2 separate regions of the Homo sapiens genome follow, and region 2 is linked to region 1. Evidence: promoter capture Hi-C in human tissues and cell types (Jung and others, 2019). All regions are on one chromosome and are shown on one strand. The core of a region is centred on a gene start or on the middle of the fragment in contact, and the rest is flanking DNA. Distances in the headings are between cores, read along the strand shown. Region 1 holds the start of ADGB (androglobin). Region 2 overlaps ADGB (androglobin).

Region 1 (5,115 bases), core at 2,500-4,999:
TGTTCACCTATGCATTTTGACTCCATTCCCCCTGTGCTTTGGACTTTGGGCAAGTTGCTTTGCCTTTCTAAAGCTCATTTTCTTCGCTATAAAATGGGCAGAGTTTCATACTTCATAGGGTTGTGATCACTGAAGGTGTCAGAGGCAGAATAATGTGGTTATAAAGAGCATGGGTCTAGAGCCATGAGTTTGAATCATGCCTGATCACTTACTAACTTAATTTAGCCACTCTTTGCCTATGTTCCTATTTATAAAAGAGAGATTATAATAGCAAATCCCTAGGGTGTTTGTAAGGATTAAGTGAATTAATACAGAAAAATAGCTTAGAAGAGGGTCAAGCACATAGCAAGTGCTCAACAAATGTAAGCTCTTATTATTAAGGGTTTAGGAGCTTCAAAAGTGTGAATGAATTTGGTAGAAGAGGAGTTTTTGCTTTGAGTGACCCTACAGTCTAGTAAAGGAGAAAAAACAAGGCATAAGTATTAATAAAAACAAGACAGAATATTATAGGAATTTTAAAAGATGAACAAATAAAGTTCTGTGGGAAATAAAGGAGAAGGGTGTAAATTTCCATGGAAATGTGAAAAGAACAGAACTTGAAGTGACAGTTAAATTCAACCTTACACAGAACATGTAGAATGCATACTTTCTCATTTGGCTGGTTAAATTCCAAGTAATTTTATAATTGACCTAATTGCAAAGAGGTAGCTGAGCAGCAAAATATATACAATTCCCTATGGCTGTGGAATCAAGTGTCTGAAGATGGAGTTATGGATTTAAGAAACAGAAATGCTGCCACTCTGCCCACCCCTGCCATCTCCCACCCAGTTCCCTCCATCTAGGATTCCCATTGGTGGAGGGAGAAGTGGTTGCCAATTCTCACTTCCCTATTTAGGCAGATCCTCAAGCAGAGAGACTCCTGCCTGTTTTGTTTCTGCTGATATGGGGAAGTGGGTACCTCTAACCACTTCCCTAGGGAGCAGGCGCTACTGCTGCCTGAAGCCAAATATCTCTTCCCCGAAAAGGAAGTATAGATTAGAGAGAGGCCCTATTCTGGGTAGCTTGAATAAAATATAAGCCCTGTTTCTCAGTCTTTGACAGTTGTTAAATAGCAAGAGTTTGGAAATCCCTAAGCTCAGTCCCAGGGCAATCATCTGTATGGACAGTTAGTCCAGAGAATTGGAGAGAGCACAGGTTATGGAGTGGCCAATCTTCCTCTGCCACCTACCACCTGCTCCATGTCAGGCAAGTCCCATTTCCTGTCTGCATTTCAGTTCTTTACCTGTGGAATAATAACATTAGCTATAATTCTCTGAATGCTTGGGATGAGTCAAGCATATTTGAGGTATTATTCTTCCCTTTCCACAAATAAAGAAAATGGAAGTTAAATAACTCACCCATAATTACCCAACAAGAGTCAGGATTTAAATTCAAGTTTATCTCTAAAGGAGTTAGCACCCTTCCCTAAACCTTGCATGTAGTAGGTACTCAATAAATCACAGCTATTATTATTATTATTCCAAAGTGACATTGACAACAGTTATAAGAAAAATAAAAACAGCAGTAGGACCTATTGTCTTTTTTGCACTGCCACAATAAATATCATGTTAAGCTTTGTAGCTAGAACTATCTTAGAGAGGAACAGATTTGCTCTTATAATTACAGCCTGACCAGAACCTTAGCTCCAGAAAGAAGAGAAATTCCATTTATGCATGTTGCACTCTTAATATAATAAAGGAGAAAGAACACTGGCGTAGGAATTAATAGGCAACTTATACTCGTCACATCTTTTATGATTATCTTATTCCATTCTGGTGACAACCCCCTTACTTTATCCTAATTTAATAGATGTTTAAAAAGCAAGCTCTGAGTGGAGTAGTGATATGTTTGGCTTAAACTGGCAATGCTGACTTTAATGTGTTTAGTCCAAATTCCATCAATAAATAACCCAGCAACTTTTGGCAAGACATTTTGCTTGTCTTCGCCTGGAGTTATTTGTCCATAAAATACCGGTGGGATGTAGATCTTTTGATTTCTAAGGCTTATCTTCCCTAATTCTTTTGGCATCTTGCAGCCATTAACAATGGCTGCAGGATAGCCCTTGTTCAAGAAGAAACTCACCTCTCTGTGGGGTTGGCTGCTTAAAGTTGTGCTGTTTTCAGCCAAGAGTCTTTGTATATACTTATAGCTATAAATTTGATTACTCTGACAAAATTTGGTAGTAAATAATTTTTCTCACCATTTAGTCCTCTACTTTCATTCAAGAGAGTTCTCTGGAAATTTGAATTATGGTATAAACAAAGCAGAATCTTCATGATGTGTTCATTGTCTTTACATATATAGGAGATGTTTGCAGGGCAGTCTTGTAGTCATAATATTAACACTGCTGACTTGGAATTTATTTATTTTGCATATAGAAATACAACGAAGGGGCTGTCTGTCATCTAGGTAACCCCCAGTAGTAATCCAATAGTAATAAGATTGGGATAGTCTGACAAACCATAGGCTATGCTGAGTGGAGAGCCCTGAGCATTCATTTGTCAGAGAAGTTGAAAGATTTTCTCTGCAGGAAGCTGCCTCTTGCCTGCACAGGTGGAACTGTGAGCATGTGCCCAGTCCCATGAGTGGAGGGGATTTCTTTTATTTAAAGATACTTAACTATTTCTAGGCTCATGAAAGACACCAACCAGTAGTAGTGGTCCTAGGCCTAAGGGCTGTGTGTCAGATATCTCTGAAGTGAGGTTATATTGAACCAACACAATATTTTGTTTTGTTTTGATAAATTTGCAAGCTCTTGCAGTCTAAGCATGTCTCAGTTAAGCATAGTATCCACTACTCTGTATTTACCTGGCCAACTTCATTCATTCACGCTGTCTGCTGCTCCTCGAAACCAGGTGGTCTGTCATCTCTGAAAGAGTGGCTCCTATTTGCTGCGCTTTGCATCTTATCCTCAAAACAGAACTGTGAGTTAGGTATAACTCCTATTTATAAGTGAGTAATAGGCATCTCCTATTTATAAGTGAGTAAACTGAGACTCAAAGGGAAAAACTAGCCCAAGGCAAGATAACTAACAAATCACCACTGATGACTGAGCCTTAAGCCTGCGCCCTAATAAGTTTCATTTTACTTGGTTCTGTCTGTGTCATCTGGCCCCTGGACCTTTTCTGGAAAGTCTGCAAAGGACCACCTGAGCCCATGACTTGGACTCACTCTTTCATTCGAACAACAAGACACCTTATTGGTTTTATTACAGATATCATCACCTAGCCCTCAGCGACTCAAGGTGTCATTATTTTGCCTTCCTTACACCCACTGTGTTAATTTCTGGACCCCAGGTTTTCAAGCCATTGACAATTTCAGCGTGTCTGTAATGTCTCCTTAGTAATTATTGAAGGTACTTGTTATATTTAGCCAAGAGAATAACTGGGGTGGTACTAGGATAACATCTACGTTCAAATAGTTGGATATTCAAGAGTCGATATATGTCTATGGTTCCGAAGGGCAAAGCCAGGCAGTGTAGGTCCTGCAGAACTCCAATTAATCAGGGCTGCCCAGTAATCCTAATGCCAAACCCGTGCCCCAGAACCTCGATTTCTCCCCAGACACCAACTCCAAGTTCCTCCACGGGGATGTGGGATTTCAGTTTATGCTCTTGCGTCCCTCTGCAGCCACAGGCCGCAGAGCCCGCCCCCAGGGCCCCGCCCCCGCTCTCCGGGCGCTGGACGCGGGACGCCGTCTCCTGGCAACGCAGACGCGGAGCCGAGCGCGCCCGCAGGCTCTTTGCTCAGAGCTCAGCCCTACATAGATCGGCTTCTGCCATGGCCTCCAAACAAACCAAAAAGAAAGAGGTGCATCGTATCAACTCGGCGCACGGATCGGATAAATCGAAAGAGTAAGGGACCTCTGCCTGTCCGTCCCTCCCCTGGCCTAGCCCCTCGACCTCACCACTAGTTCTGGGGCTGCCTCCCTGCAGCAAACTGTGCCAGGGCAGAAGTTTAGTGGCCTCCTCGCAGCTTGTCTTCTCTGGTAAACCAGATCCTGGAGGTGCTCGCTCTCATCCTTCTCTCTTGCTTGTCTTGACTCACTTCCTTTCCCAGAGCCCCTGATTTTCTTGCTTTGGGTGTTCAGCTCCCATGGGTGAATCTGCCACCCCTCCTCTTCTTCATAGCCCTCTCAGGCAGTTAGAAAGGCCATAGCTTTCCTAAGAAAGAGGCATATCTCAAATACTTCTGGTTAAAGCCACATCTTCATGGCCCCGGAAATGATACAGACAGCGAGTGACAGACAGACATGGACACATTTCACCTTAATGGTGATTTTCTAGTTTGCATCTGCCCAGTCCAACGACTACGATCTTTAATCAGATATAGTCAGACGTAAAGTGGCTTCTAAACCTTAAAACATTATAAATGTATAGTTCATGTTACTAACATTTACTCTGAGAAAGTAAACAGACCCTCGCTCATGGAATTTTTATGGTGCCTTTGTCCTGGGCTGGTGTTAGGTGTTGTGTCTTAGGATGTACTTCCCCATGATTATTATTTTCTGTGGTCTGTTTCCCTAGGGATATCCAGTTATCCACAGCATAGGATTGGGGCTGTTTGAACTTACACCATTTCTAATGTTCATTCCCACTGTGAGAGAATCCCAGCTGCCCGCCCTGCTTCAGTGGGATCATTCATGTTCTTCATGCTCTGCCTGATGGGGAGGGCGATGCAATCAATCATTTCAAATTGAATTCTTACATCCTTGATGCCTGTTTCTCCATTTCCTTCCCTGGCTGAAGAATTCCACATTGGACTGATCCCTATGATTCACTGATCCCTAGGATTTAAACTCTTTTTCTTTGTGAATTCTTCTCCCAGACTCATTCCCATGTCTGTGAATCTCTAGTCCCTTAGTTCTAACCTCTCTCATAAGCAGGTTTCCAGTTACCCGGCAGATAATCCATTCCTTTTACTAGCTTAAATTTTAGATATTACATATATAAGTAATATTACATATATAATTTTATATAAATATTACATATGTAATTTTAATAGGATTGCTTTACTTCTGTGTACCAAAGTCAGGTCTTTTCAGCGTTGTCTAATGGCTTCCATTCCTCTAGGTCCA
Region 2 (5,115 bases), core at 1,151-3,650, 65 kb after region 1:
GAATGTGTTTATTTTACTCTTATTCCTAAAGAATATTTTCCCTAGTGATATGATTCTGGGTTAGCAGTAATTTTCTTTCAGCATTTGGTATTTAGTGTGCCATTAATTTTCCAGCCTTCCAGAATTTTCCTCCAGGCCAGCCAGAATTATTCTTCTGGCCTCCCTGGCTCCTGGTGAGCAATCTGTCCTTCCCCTCTAACAGGTCTTTTCTTGCTGCTGGCTTTCAAGCTTTTTTCTTTTGTCTTAACTTTTAAGAAGTTGGAATTCGATCTGTCTGGCTGTAGAATTCTTTAAGTTTATCCTATTTGGTTTAGTCTGAGTTCCTTGAGTTTGTAGGTTTATGTCTTATGACAATTTGGGAGAGTTTTCAGCCATTATTCCTTCAACTATATTTTTTGCCCCACTCTCTCTTTCTCTTCTTTTTTTCAGTGGCAACAATGACATGAATATTATATCTTTTTGCATTATCCGCACAGGTCCCTGAGCCTTATATGATTGTTGATACTATATTTTCCTGTTATTCGTAATTTCTATTGATCTAATGTCCAGTTCACTAATTTCTATGCTATCTGCATTCTGCTATTGATCTCATCAATTGAGAGTTGCTTTTTAGTTTAATTTTAAGCTTAAAATTTCTATTTTTATGCCTTTATATCTTCCATTTCTTTGCTGAGAGTTTCTATTTTTGAATTTGTTTCAAGAGTGTTCATAATTGCTTGTTGGAACATTTTTGTGAGAATTGCTGTAAATTTCTTATTTAATAATTCTAATTTCTCTGTCATTTTGGTTTTGTGGCCTGTCGACTGTATTTTCCCATTGAAATTGAGACTTTTCTGGGTTTTGGTATGATAGGTAATTTTATACAGTTTCCTGAATATTTGTAGTGTTATGTTTTACAACTCTGATTGCTAATTAGTTTTATATTTTAGCAAGTAGTCAACGTGTTTAGATTCAGAAGGCACATCCTGGCTCACATTTATCGGCTGTGTCTCAAATGCCAGTTTAGTTTATAAAGCCTCTGATGTACTATTCTGGTCTGCCACTTTTGTTTGCTACCCAGATAATAAGACTTCATTCCACAATCTTCTTATATATAATATATATATAACTTAATAATGTTATATATTACACATATAAATATATATGTTATAATGTATATAATATATATCTTAATCTTAATAATATATATCTTCATAATTTTATATAATCTTAATAATATAGATCAAAATAATCTTATTATTAAGGTCATATATTTATATAATTATATAAATATGTAATTATAGTATAAATATAATAAATATATAATTATATATATAATTATAAATATATAATATATATTTATTATATATTATATATTATATATAATAATATTAAGGTTTTTTATATATATATAAGTATATATAACCTTAATAATATTAGTCTTGTAACAACTAAGGCTACTATACCAGAATACTATAGACTGGTGACTTATAAACAGCAAGAATTTATTTTTTATATTTCTGGAGGCTGGGAAGTGTGAGATCAAGGCACTGGTAGATTTGGTGTCTGGCAAAGCCCTGCTCCCTGGTTCATAAATGGCTGGCCATTTTCTTGCCATAAAATTCCATGGTGGAAGAGAAAAACTTTGGTTTCTTCAACTTCTTAAAAGGGCACAAATCCCATTCATGAGGGCTTTACCCTCCTTTTTACCTAATTCTATCACTTTGGGCATTAGGATTTCAACACATGAATTTTGGGGAGAAACATTCTGTATGTATACACACATAGACACATGCACGCAAACGTATTTTTTATATGTTCAGGATAGATATGTTCAATATAGATATACATGTTCAGTAATCATACAGTATTTATCCTTTTGCATCTGGCTTATTTCTCTGTGGTTTCTTGTTGATCAAGAAATTAATTAGGAGCAGGAATAATATGAGAATTGGAAGTGTAAGATCAGTGAGGATACATCAAGATAAGCAATAATTACTAAAGTTATATTTGGAGAATTTGTATTTTGACTATGTTAAGTTATTTGATTATGTCCAAGCTTATCCATGGTTGTATAATGTTTTGGTTCTGGTCCTTGAAACACCTCAATTTCCTGCATTATGCAGTAAGGGACTCCCAAGACTTTGTTCACAAGACCTCATAAGTAAAGACAATATTGATATAGACATGGGTGAGCTGTGATTATGCTAAATAAAGCAATAAGCTAACATATTCAACCAGAGTAGTATTGAAATCCAGTATCTCCGTCTTTCAGTGTAAGATGCTAAAATAAAATTGGAAAACGGTAAATAGTAATGTCAGCCACGTGCAATCATTTACGAGAGAAAAGACTGTAAGCCATTGATGGTATTACATTTCTTTCATCTTATTTTTAGGGTTGCTGGAGAAAGATAACAATTGATGACTTTTTGCCTTTTGATGAAGATAACAATCTATTGCTTCCAGCTACAACTTATGAATTTGAACTGTGGCCAATGCTTTTGTCTAAAGCTATTATCAAGCTGGCAAATATTGAGTATGTAATGACACTATCACTCACATGAATAAAAAAAGCAAACAAAAACATTAACTATACATTTGTATTGCATAATTTATTTTTTTAAAATTAGCTAAAAGACAGCTTTTTCCCCTAAACAATGTAATGCTCTAGTATAAAATCAAATACGCCAAAACCACTGATTTTTTCTATTAGGTTAACAATAATGCAAAATTCCTCCAAGAAAAATATACCCAAGAATTATTCTATGTTCAGTGCTGTCTTACTATGAATGGAAATTTGATCATGGAAAATGATGTTTTGTTTAATAGGAGAAAAAATTGTTTTGTGGGAGAAAAATATTGGTTCATCTAAATACTGAATAATATATCCTGAAATCTAGTTAAAGATTTAGGTTCTGTATATGCAGCAATAATTTACTAATCTTGAAAAACCTGAACTTTTCTGAAAGATGTCAATGTACGCTTCATGATTTTGGTAACATTGCTCACTTTTGATACATTCATGATGAAAACTACTCATATTTTCTTCAGTATTCTTACAAAATTGGTTTCTGTCTTATATTCCTGCCTGACTTGTGCACCAACATATATGAGACACATCTGCTATGTGCTATTCCCTCAGCTTACACTTCCAGAGAAAAGGAGTCATACCATCCTGGCCCTAACAATGCAAAAAATCTTTGATGATCGTGTTGGAAATGCATGGCAATTTTGCCTCATTGCTCACTGGAAGATGCTCACATACATTGCACAGGCTGGGATTTTATACACGTCCACCTCCTGCAGTTTGTCAAAGATTCTCGATATTTAACAGGACACACCCACATGCTTTAACAGTACATGTTAGAGATTTGCTCACAGCTCAGCCCCCTCCCCTTCTATAAACATTGCAATGTTAGTCAGAAGTCAGGCCTGCTTTGTGTGGATTTTCTTTAGGCACAGCTTCATTTTTCTCTCCCAAGGCTACAAAACAAAAACAACCACTCCTACTGCCATCCTCTTCATATCTGTTTTTTCCTTACCAGCCCTCAGTTTTCCTTTGGGAATTAGTTTCACCCAGCTTTTAGCACTTAATTGCAATGATTTTCATAAAAACTCAGCCCAGATCTTTGTAGGTAGCTGAATAGCACTAAGTATTCATACCGGTGGCATGTTCATTTATTTGGGAAAAAAAAATGTTCTGAATGTTTCTAGTTCTCAGACATAACTTGAAGTTCTGAGAATCAGAGCTGCTAGAGCAGTGAGGCATTGAATACATGACCTGGATAATTGGAGTGGTATTTTATCTTTCTTAAAGCTGTAGTTCAGTAGAAATTTATAGCAACATAAGTATTAGGGTTATTATTATTGTTTAAAAAATCCAATTAGTAAATAAAGCAACAAGCTAAGTGTAATACATTTCTTGGGAATTCTGGTGGAAAGTTTCCCTACATGGTACAATTTATATTTTTCCATAATTTTTTTCAGATTTTTACAGTACATAGTGATTGCTTTTATATGAGGATTAGCTTACTACATTTTCCAAATTAACACATAGTAATTTCAATGTCAATGTGAGATATGCACAGAAAAGAGCATTATTTCTATTTGATTTGCAAAGTCACTTCATAAATTTGTCCAATGAGGAGTTTAGACTAGTCTGGGATCTATCCCAATAGACACTTATTATCTTTGAAATACGTAGACATATAGAAATTTGTAATCCATAAACAACAAAACAGTGCACATTTTAAAATAATGGCATATGTGACTAAGATAGTAAGATTTCTTTCTGAAGAAAGGCACACATGTGTTGGTAATGCCATTAACACTACCACTGACGGATAGTCAGCTGAAGCCGTGACTCCCGGGCAGAAGGGAGATATGGCATTTTTGCATGTAAATGTAAATAGACTAATAACTTCAGGGAAAAAAATAAGAGGTCTAAATGAGAATAGTGATACTTGGTTAATCATATCCTCGTTTTACTTTATGCTAAGCTGACAGATCCACTCTTCTGTACAGGACAGAACAGATGTTTCTGGTTTCTCCACAGTTATCTAAGGATTTCTGATGCCCATCTTGACTTGCCATAGATGAGACTGATCTAACACACAGCTTCAAAGACATCTTAAAATAATTACTGAAATCAGAATGATAAAAGAGACTGTTCTGTTTTTAAAAGAAGTATACAAAAATGGATTATATTCTAATTATATATTTCATAATATATAATGTGAATATATTTCATGTATATAGCATTAATATTACTTTTAGATCTTAAAAAATAAAGCATATAAACATGCCTTGCAAATACAAATGAAATTAATTATATTATAAATCCTACTTCAGTGTTTTAACAAATAATTTGGCTTCTGGGATAGTATTTTTTAATACAGTCTATAATGAATAATCAGAATATATTGCTGTTTATTAATGATTCCTAGTTCTTATATATCTTTATGTGTTTTCAAATTTTGCTACCTGTAACATTATGCATGTTCTTTTTTAGCATCCATGTAGCAGACAGGAGAGAGCTGGGGGAGTTCACGGTTATTCATGCGCTCACAGGATGGTTACCAGAAGTCATTTCTCTTCAGTATGTTTGACTATTAAATTGCTCATATCTATTTTTTT

The links. The method cuts DNA at HindIII sites, captures the fragments that hold promoters and counts their contacts. A contact is called where the count stands out against the background at its distance.
Region 2: a fragment that was not itself captured here is called in contact with the fragment with the promoter of ADGB in region 1 in 4 of the 25 tissues and cell types used here (bladder, dorsolateral prefrontal cortex, mesenchymal stem cells and 1 more).

What each region holds. Positions count from the first base shown.
Region 1 is chr6:146,595,223-146,600,337 of GRCh38, forward strand. ADGB (androglobin) reads left to right here and starts at 3,750. Exons shown (of 36, transcript NM_024694.4): 1 at 3,750-3,892. The coding sequence starts at 3,819. ADGB-DT (ADGB divergent transcript) reads right to left here and starts at 3,709. Exons shown (of 3, transcript NR_125860.1): 1 at 3,611-3,709; 2 at 2,848-2,949; 3 at 1-1,282. RefSeq lists a silencer at 3,551-3,845. The HindIII fragment of the contact is 7,954 bases long and covers 1-5,115 here.
Region 2 is chr6:146,661,826-146,666,940 of GRCh38, forward strand. ADGB (androglobin) reads left to right here. Exons shown (of 36, transcript NM_024694.4): 6 at 2,376-2,515; 7 at 4,991-5,077. Among named protein-coding and RNA genes, the nearest start is that of ADGB, 65 kb to the left of the region's middle. The HindIII fragment of the contact is 5,946 bases long and covers 1-5,115 here.